2 separate regions of the Homo sapiens genome follow, and region 2 is linked to region 1. The links are contacts of gene promoters, found by promoter capture Hi-C in human tissues and cell types (Jung and others, 2019). All regions are on one chromosome and are shown on one strand. Each heading gives the region's core, a stretch centred on a gene start or on the middle of the fragment in contact. The rest is flanking DNA. Distances are from core to core; before and after follow the strand shown.

Region 1 (5,106 bases), core at 2,056-4,555:
CCCTCTAGGTGCCAGCAGTAAATGCTGGTTTCTGTAAGGCTCTCCTCCAGAGAAGACTGCTGCTGCTATTCTGCTAATGAATGACTAACTTAGGCCAGGGGGGAAATGACATCACCAGGGTGGAAAACCGATCTGCATTGGGAAACTTTCTACCTGCTTTACATTTGTCATAATTATTTTGCACAATGCAGTCTGCATTTGCATAATTTTGAGGCGTGTCATTATCTCAATTGAAAATTGTTTTAATATGGCTGAATAATTCACAATGACATCAGCCAAAGTCCTAATGAAATATACAAGTATAATCATACAGCTAATTACCAGCCGTGTTAGCATTAAAAAACAAATCATGCATAATATTAGACGATGTATATGCAGCTGAGGATTATAAATAGAGCCATCTCCCTCCGCAAACCCCCTAGAGTTTACTTTTAAATGGCAAGATTAATTTTCTCAGGTATGGCTCATATAGCAGTGACGAAATGCACAGATCATTACAATGGTTCCCTTTCAATTCCCCATAATGAACAATTAAAAAGAAATCGTGTATTTAAAAATATATCTATTCACTGTCAACACTTCTAGCAGATGCAACGTTTGGCAAATATAGCCTTTATTCTTAAATCAGAATTCACCATTTAATTACACCAACAAAAATTAAAACTGTACCAAGTGGGGTCAACTCAGGGTCTTTAAAAAACATCCCAATTTCAATTCCCCGCCCCCCAAAAAAGAGTGACCACAAAATATCCCATAAAACACTGAATAATTTCCTCCTGGACTTAGTCAGAAGTCTGTTAAGCACCAGTTCTTTTCTGGATATTTAATCCTTCCCTTTTCCAGATCACAGGCCATGTTGAAGTAATAAATTTGAAAAGCAAATAATAAGAAATCAGGAGGGGGAGAGGGAGGGGGAGGAAGACAGCTGCGCAGGAAAGTTGGGTCGGGGGAGGGGGCCGAGCCAGACCTTGGGAGGGGGAAAGAGCTCAACCTGTTGGTAGGTTGCAGGATTTTTCACAGTATTTCCAAACAACACCTTTTTAAAATTGCAGGCGGACGTCGGGAAATATGAACATTTAAAAACCAAAGCTGGCCGGGGAGGGTGGAGGGGGGAGGTGAGCGGGGAGGTGGGAGGGGCTTATTTCCGAAAAGGCAGATTCGAGGGCGAACGTTTCGACGAACTCCAGTAATTAACCGGCATAGACCACTGACGAGTAATTCGATCCTGGGGAGAGGGAGTGAACTAGCAATGCCAAAAGTACTATCAACTCGATCAAACCGAGGAATTCTGGAAGGACTGGCAGCTCCGAGCCCCGGGATGAGTTAAACGGGAAACCATTCATTTAACAAAAAGATCCTTAGATCCTTACACCTACCTCGAAAGCTCGAGAGCCTGGCACAGCACTAGCTGCCCTCAAAAGTCTGTTTGATTACCCTGCTCTCGCTTTGGCAACACAAAGCCTCGCCAGGCGGCAGTGCGCCCTCCCTCCCCGCTGCGCCGTGGGCACAGACTCCCCAAAATAGTTCCCCTCGGTAGGTACCACGGCGCTGAGGTCGGTCAGCTGAGGAGGGGAGCCCGCAGAACTGCGGTCACACATGAAATGACAGAGCCGAAGGGAGGCGGCCGCCCCGGCGCCCAGTGACAGCGGGCTCACCTCCGGCGTCCTCCCGGGAGCGCGGCGAGCGCCCCCGCGGCCGCCCAGAAACGTGCCGGGGAGGCTCTGTCCCCTCCCCGCCCTCCCCGGGAGCGCCGTCTGGGCACGGAGAACGCTGGACCCGCAGGGCCAGTGGGCGAGCACACACCCCTCTGCCCTCCCCTCCCCCGCCCCCGTCCCACACACCCCCAAAGATCGCGCAGGAGGACGTCCACTTTGCGTGGAGTAATTGCAAACTAGAACATCAAATGGCTTGTCCGGGGGGAGGGGGAGTGGGCGAGAGATAGTTGTTAATGCTTAACGTGTTTGTGCCTGTTACACCACCGCTTTGAAATCCGCCCGGGCAGATCTGCAAGTTATTTGAATGTATTATTCCAGTACCTGTCATTTATCACTTTATTCAACACGTCTTTGCCAACTCAATAGCTTTTGATCTCATTCTGCCTCCATTTCGTAATTTCCGCCCTCTTAAACATATCAAATACTTACTTTGAAAAAAGAACAATATCGAAACCCACCGAAAGAAATCCACCCAGACACGACCGAGCCAGACACGAAGGTAAATTTTCAAAAGGCAAAAAATATAAAAAGCATGTGATGTTCAAGAGGCAATAGCAGGAGAGCAAATGAACACACACACACACATACACACACACACACACACACACACACACATCCTTGAACAAAACCCTTCTCGAACAAGTTATTTGATCTTGACTAAAATCAGCAGTTGGATCCTCTTTGTAAAGCTGACAGCCAAACTCTGACAATGGCAAAATACTCGAGCCCCAGCTAGTGGCGCTACCCCTTTAAAAAAGGAGTCGATCCTGCTTGCCTGCAGAAGTGAATACAGTATTTTCAAGCTTGCCCTGTAATAAGCATTACTAGGGGGAAAAATAATAAAGAAAGAAGAGGGGGACAGACAGGTTTACCACCTCGCCATGGTCGCTATTTCTGCCCTGGGGAGTGTCTTCTGGGAGGAAATAAAGTTTAGAGCTGGATAAAAGTTGCCGGCTGGTCCTCTCTTCCCACAACAGCTGGAGCTCCGCTATGCAAATCGGATCCTTTGGCGTACATCTTACAAAGAAAAAGTCGCCAAGGGACAAAATTCTTGGTTTGCCTTCAAGGTGGAATTGAAAAGCCTTGTAGAAAATGTAAGGTCCGTGCAAGCCACACGGTGAGCCGACCCACTGCAGGGGGGGAAAAAAACACCAAATAAATAATGTAGCCATCAGAGCACAAACATCTATTCCCAGACACATTTACACACAGACATCCACTCTCTTAATACAGACGACCCAACAGATATAACGCTGGGTGGAAAAATAATAGCACCCACAAATTTTCTGCTTCCCTAAAAAAAAAAAAAAAAAAACTCAGGGCCCCCCACCGCCACTTCTACCCACCTCCCCATTTGAGGCGGTAAAATTACATTATGTATGTATGATCAGTGCAGGGATTTTTTTAAACAATAAAAATGATTTTGGGGGATGCAGAGGGTAAAAGTTTGGTGAAAAGTTTGTGGGGGGTGTGGGTGGGTGCAGAGGTGTGGGTGAGCTGGGGGGTTGGGGGGTGCCGGGGGGTGCCGGGATCGGAGGAGCGGAGGAGAGCGAAATACCTGGAGTGAGTTGGGCTCCATCTCGACGTTCTGAATTGATTGAACTCAACATTCTCTCCAAACTTGTTGGCTTGAATGGATTGCATCAGGTCCTGGCAGGGAAACGCATTCTCTGCCTTCAGCCGGCGTAATGTCTCAATATAAAACTGAGCTCTTGCCTCCCTTCGGGCACCGAAATGATTGAAAATATGTCCTAATATTTCTATAACGACTCAATTTTCAGCTCCTGAAAAAACTATGTGGGTTTTCTTCCAAAGATGGATTGATCAAATTCATAATCGAGAGAAAGGCGCCATACGATCTCGGCGGGAAGAGGATGGATCAAGGCAAAAAACACACAAGAAGATTTGTAAAAATAAAAAGCACCCTAAAACTGTGTGGAGATGTGATTCCTCTCTCTCTAACCGCTCCTGTCTGGGATATCGTCTGATGAGATTTTTGGAGGAGAGGAGGGGTAGCGAGCTCCACTGTGCATCTGACAGGACCTGCTTGTATATGTCTAATATAAAGAACATTTCCTGCAGAGATTCCGGGGCGCTGCTCCTCTTTCTAATGCTTCTTAGCAGATTTGCTGTTATTAGACATGTAGATTTGTTTGATAGTTAAATTACGCTTCCTCACTGCCATGTTTTCGAGAACTAATCTGTTAAATTATCTTTTGATGCCTATTTACATGGAAGGGAAAAGTGGGTTATCGATTATATAAACATATAAATATTAATGCATTTGTTCGCTTCGCAAAAAAATACTCAGCAAAAAAAAAAGAGACAAGTGAGCAGTGCACACACATCTTAGGATTTCGCAAACAATATTGAACGGACAGCGACTGCATTTAGGGACTGGAACAATAAACGATGCATGATAAATCAATAAATGCGAGAAGCGAGTCTGCTCAGAATATGAATTCAGGCTCCCGGTTCTGCGTGTGCATTCTTTAATTTTGAAGTATATACACTAGTACGTGTTTACAATGCTGATGGACGCCAAGGGCGCTCTCAAATGATAATGTGTTTATATAACCCAGCGCTACAGGAATAATATACCGACTCCTACCCCACCCCCATCCCCTCCCCCGCCAAAAAAGGGAGGGGAGCTTCCTCAATAATAGTTTGAAACTGAAAAAATCCATTTGCAAACTAGTTAAATACAACCAGAAATTAAGCTGTTGAAAACCGGGGGCATGAACCGTAAGACAATAAAGGCTTTAAATGTGTATATTTATTGTTCTGGAGCCCTGGAGCATTGCGAGGTTTGCATGCACGGCTATTATGCAAACACAGAGAAACTTAAGAGCGACAGAACAAGGAACAGGCAGAGACTGCAAAGCCCTCGCAAGCTCCGACCCAGCTGCCGGTCCTCCGCCAGGCTAGATTGCATTTTCGCAGTGTTGATTTAAAATGGTGTACTCGCTTCCCCCACGTTCCCCCACCCCCTTCCCCGCTCTCCTCCCACTCCTTCCAGCACACCCCCCCTCCAGCTTTTATTATATTGGCACCAATCTTTCCAAAGTGGGTCTGGCATGCTAAAAAAGTAAACATGTACTATATGGGGAATAAGGTCTGTATAGTATGACAGTTGAAACTTGATCTGTGATAAAATTACAGGATGTTGAAATTACTAGTAAGCTATTTTTAACGCTTTCGCAACGTTTCACCTCTAGTCACAGCATCTAGTTGAAACAGGATTACTTTAATGAAAATTATATTCACATGGCTGAAGTTAATACACCCGGCAGAGCACAAATGCCTCATATTCAGTGACTTGAGGTGGAAAGACCCTCTGTGTGTATTTTTATGCCTTTTCATAACGTCTGCGTCCGCTGCAGTAAGAATT
Region 2 (5,287 bases), core at 504-3,003, 540 kb before region 1:
AGTTCAACCATTGTGGAAGTCAGTGTGGTGATTCCTCAGGGATCTAGAACTAGAAATACCATTTGACCCAGCCATCCCATTACTGGGTATATACCCAAAGGACTATAAATCATGCTGCTATAAAGACACATGCACATGTATGTTTATTGTGGCACTATTCACAATAGCAAAGACTTGGAACCAACCCAAATGTCCAACAATGATAGACTGGATTAAGAAAATGTGGCACATATACACCATGGAATACTATGCAGCCATAAAAAATGATGAGTTCATGTCCTTTGTAGGGACATGGATGAAATTGGAAATCATCATTCTCAGTAAACTATCGCAAGGACAAAAAACCAAACACCTCGTGTTCTCACTCATAGGTGGGAATTGAACAATGAGATCACATGGACACAGGAAGGGGAACATCACACTCTGGGGACTGTTGTGGGGTGGGGAGAGGGGGGAGGGATAGCATTAGGAGATATACCTAATACTAACTGACGAGTTAATGGGTGCAGCACACCAGCATGGCACATGTATACATATGTAACTGACCTGCACTATGTGCCCATGTATCCTAAAACTTAAAGTATAATAATAATAAAATAAAATAAAATAAAAGAACTGGGGACTGCATCTGCCTGAAAGAGGTAAGAAGGCTTCCCTGGAGTTGATGGCATGGCATTACATGACTTACAAGAAGAGATTCGAACATTCAGAAGTTTAACTGCCAGGGCCCATGCAGGAAAGAATTCATTCCAGGTGATTTGAATGAAGAAGATGTAAGGACAGAGGAGAGGGCAGGTTAAGGAAAAGTTAGGGTGGTTGATGCATCCAGAGACTAGCAACAATAGGAGGCTATTACCAGCCTCCTAGGGCCATTACCAGCCCTGGGGCCCAGGGCCAAGACAATTGCTAGAGTCTACTGAAAACTAGAACCATAGATAAGGAGCTAATTGGCAGAAGCTGTAATTTGAAGTAATTGAGCGCAGCTACTTCTAGAGACATACTACAGAAGCAGAGGGCTCAGAAGTTATACACTGACCTCTCTTCCCACTCTCCTGTCTCCTACCGGGGCCTCTCAATGGCCAAACTCAACTCAAAATCAGCCAGCACACCAAGAGATGTATCTGCAGGGATCAGCCTCCCAGGGCACAGAGAAGAGCAGAGAATGCATCTGGGGAGCAGAACAAGATGGGAAATGGGGGCAGAAAATAATCAGCAGGGGAATAAGTCAGTCCTTCCTGTCCCTGGAGTGAGAGGAAATGGCTGATGCTTCCTGGAGTCAGTCTGACACTTCTCAGCCCTAGAAGATGCCAAGTCTAAGAGCAGAGGGATTGCCTAATCCTTGATAATATCAGTCCAAAACTTTTGTCATGGATGGCATTGAGAATGCTTTGGTGGAACAGATGAATGTACCCCTTTCCTCACAGTCAAGCTGTACTCCATGGGGGCAAAAGTTCAAGACTGTAATCATTGCATATTTAAGTTGTCACAGTGGAGAGGCCTGGCTTAATTTTTTTTTAAGTTAACATTATTTACTGGTCACAGGGACATTAGTTCTCAGTGAAATGCAGTTAAAGGCGATTACCTCCTCATTGCCACTTATTCTCAATTTACCAACTAAAAGGACAATGTGGGGGTTCTGAGCACAGAAGTTTTATGGAGCCCATTTTCCCCTTGAAATCTTGAACGCTATTATTTGCCAGTTGTTTAAAAGCTAGCATTTCAGTTTTCAAAGCTACAATCACATTTATTTTCTGGTTAAAGAGCAGGAGAAGAAAAACAACTCCCCAGGTTGAAGTTAATGTTTTTAACTCCTTCTCCCCAAGAGACATATACATATGCAAGCTTGCACCTCTAGGCTCTGGAAACATGATAAGCCATGTAACTGCTCCGAACCAGGGAACTGTAATAAAACCAGAGCATCTAAACACAAGGCAGAGGAACCCGAGAAGGAAGGTAAAATTCTAAGCAGTCTCCTTTGAAAGGGTCACTGACCAACTGGGGCATACACAAAAGAAGGAGTGATCAGAGTGACAACAGACATTGAGGGTCTCTGTTTGTCTCCAGTTTTCTGAAGGAATGGAATAACTAATTATATGCTTTCAAAGGGCAGAACTAGAACCAATCATTACAGGAAAATCCCTTTCACCTCAGAAGGAAGAAGCTGATAACTGATTTATTCACTGCTTCAGTGCTGTACTTAGTGCTTGACTTATAAAGGGCACTCAATGTTTGCCAAATGAAAGGTCATCACGGGCACTGGTCAGTGGTAAAAACTGCCACTGTAGCTAGAGAGCTACGTGTCACTAAACAGAGTGTCCGGTGATTCAGAATTCAAAGCCCGGTTGAGCCCTTGCAGGGAGCACTGTTGAGTGCATCCCTGTATGCGACGGACAATTGAATCTGTTCTGTTTCTGGGGTTGATCAATTCTAAAGCTAATGGTGCTCCAGTGGACTAGAACTTGGTCAGGAGTGGAGGGTAAGGAAGTTATCAGGGCAAGTCCGTCCTCATTCCTGGGGATGATCAGAAGTGGAAGGTAAATCTCAGAAATTCCCCCCATGTTGGGGATAAAGCCAGCCTCTCAGATTAGAAAAATAAAAAGCCAATGTGAGGACTCCCTGAGAAGACATCTGAATATTTTCCCTTGTTGGAAAAGAAGAACCAGGAGTTGAGTCCACCATAGCCTATGTGGAGGAGTAGGATTTCAAGAGACAGGGCAAAGGTGTTTCTGCTAGGTGCAGGCAAAGGAAGAAGGCCAGGAGGATTATTTAGAAGTTGACCTTTAAGCAGCCAAATGACATCCATCCCTCCAAACTTCTAAAGGTAACAAGCAAGAAAATGAAGCCATCGTTTCAGCACCAGCAATTGTAACGTAAGCCTGTGAGTATCTCCCTCCACCCCACCCACCACCAAGTGAACACCTTTAAATATCCGCGATTTTGCATACAGTTAATTAAAGAATGTAGTTTGATTGCTCATCTCATCTGTTCTATAGTTGTGAGTCAATGTATGGAATTTACACTCTGGCTTTGATTCATCTCTGAGCATTCAATTTAGCAGGGAAATTTTCCTTCTCTCTTTCGACTTGGGATCCTGGCTCTTTAAATTCTATCCTTATTGCCAGGCTGTTGTCATGGAGAAAAATAACTTTAAGTAGCTCTTTGGAAAGCTTTGAGTTGCTGTTCCTTGCTATTTAAAGATCCCCCAGTAAAACGAAAAGTACACTCTGTTTCCATATAAGGCTCTGCCACTCCAAGGCAAGAGTGTCACTGGGGTTTGGTTCTGTGTGCTTATAGCAGTGTAAGACATGTCCCAAGCATCTGGGGATCACGTTTGCTAAGCATGTCTACCCAGCTTGGGAAGGCAAAAGAAAATCAGAAATCAAGACTCTGCAATCTGAAATCTTTGATTGACGGGGCTCCGGAATCATTATGAGCTGAAGCAAACGAGACAAGCCAAATCTTATAATCACCATCTATTCTGCCTCCCACCTGAAGTATTTGCTGTTATGTGGCCTTACTAAATTGCTATAATCCATTTCCCTGCCACCTCCTAGTGAAATATCCAGTATCTCAAACTTTCTTCGATTCAATTCACAAGCATATATTAAACATGTAAAATAGGTCCAGTTATTTGCTGGACATTGTAGGGATCCCAAAATATAGAGCAAGCTTCCAATTAAAGTAAGGTTGGAGAGATAAGACAACACAGATGAAATGCCAAGTGATATAGAATATGTGATTCCCAACTTTGGCTGATGACTGGACACAACCATGGAGCTGTATTACCAGGCCCTTGCATCTGATTTACGCACCCAGAGACTCTAGAAGCAGGCCCCAAGAATCAGTAAGGTTCTGCCCTGTGTGGATGACTGAGGTCTGTATGACTTCTAATAAGATCATGTCTCTGAGCCTCAATTTTCTTATCTATAAAATAAAGAAAATGGTCTAGATGGCCCCTGTGTTCTTCTTTCTCTAGCATTCTAGGATTTTGCTATTTAAAGAACTAATATATATGGTATAGATAAAATCGATGCAAAAAGTCAAAGAAGGCTTCATGAACAACGTGGGACCTGGGAGCAAAAAGAAACTGCCAATGGGTGTAGAATGGTTCTAAGTATGGACTTTAGAATCAGACATCCTTAGATTTGACTCTCAGCTCTGCAACATACTGGCTGTATGACCTTAGCCAAGCAATTTAACCTCACTGGTTATTCATTTCTTATCTATAAAATGGGGATAATAATAATATCTGCTTCTTGGACTTTTTATGGGGATTCAACCAAACAATGTAGATAAAGCACAAAGAATACTCATAATAATCATCAATTATGAGTAAGTGAATATTTAAATAATTTATTTGTCTTCTTAGTTATCAAGGAAAATATTTTGCCCACTTGAAGAGGGCCTTTTCTCTTTTGTGAGGGAAATATTTGCCTCATCACATAAAGACATTAGGTTTTAAAGGAATGACTTTAGAGATCGGATGATGTATTCATTCTGTTATTTACTAAATATCTAATATGTAGGAAGGACTTTGCCAGGCACTGAGGCAGTAATTCACAAGTGAGTAAATCACAAGTGATTCCTGGGTGTACTTTCAGACATTTTGTTTCTGTAGTTTTAAGGTAGGGACCAGGAATCGGATTTCAGCAAAGCTCCAGCTGATTCTGAATAATGAGATGACACTTTTACAAACACTACTATAGAGATACACAATTAGTAAGGCAGTATTTTCATTTCAAGGAACTTACAATTCTCTATCTCATATCTGTCAATTTGCTAAATGCATTTTGCTGCTTCTAACTTTCTTCCCTTCTCTCTCCCCCTACTTATTCACCCATTGTCTGTAAACTCTGTACAAGGCACAGTGCTGGTAGACATAAAGATAGAAGAAAAACCTCTGCCCTCTAAAAGTAAATTTTTATGCAAAGAAGGAAACAACAGACATTGCAGTCTGCTTGAGGGTGGAGGTTGGGAGGAGGGAGGAGCAGAAAAGATAACTATTAGGTACTAGGCTTAATACCTGGGTGATAAAGTAATATGTAGAAAAAACCCCCCATCCCGTGACCCAGTAACACAAGTTTACCTATGTAACAAACCTTCACATGTACCCCCGAACCTAAAATAAAAGTTTAAAAAAAAAGAGAAAGAAACAAGAAGAGGAGATACAAAAATAAATAAATAAATAAATAAATAAATAAAACTATGCATTCATAAAGCTTATAATTATTAGCATTTGCATGGCAAAATGAGCCTAAGGTATCCTCTGACATACGTGCATTTTGTA

The links. Contacts are between HindIII fragments. The study calls those that stand out against the background at their distance.
Region 2: a contact is called between a fragment that was not itself captured here and the fragment with the promoter of ARID5B in region 1, in 1 of the 25 tissues and cell types used here (dorsolateral prefrontal cortex).

The regions. Positions count from the first base shown.
Region 1 is chr10:61,899,898-61,905,003 of GRCh38, reverse strand. ARID5B (AT-rich interaction domain 5B) reads right to left here and starts at 3,305. Exons shown (of 10, transcript NM_032199.3): 1 at 3,274-3,305; 2 at 2,591-2,845. The coding sequence starts at 3,294. RefSeq lists silencers at 1,554-1,873, 4,614-4,783 and an enhancer at 3,113-3,615. The HindIII fragment of the contact is 5,601 bases long and covers 510-5,106 here.
Region 2 is chr10:62,440,088-62,445,374 of GRCh38, reverse strand. It overlaps a transcript of ZNF365 not described here. Among named protein-coding and RNA genes, the nearest start is that of ZNF365, 68 kb to the right of the region's middle. The HindIII fragment of the contact is 5,382 bases long and covers 1-4,444 here.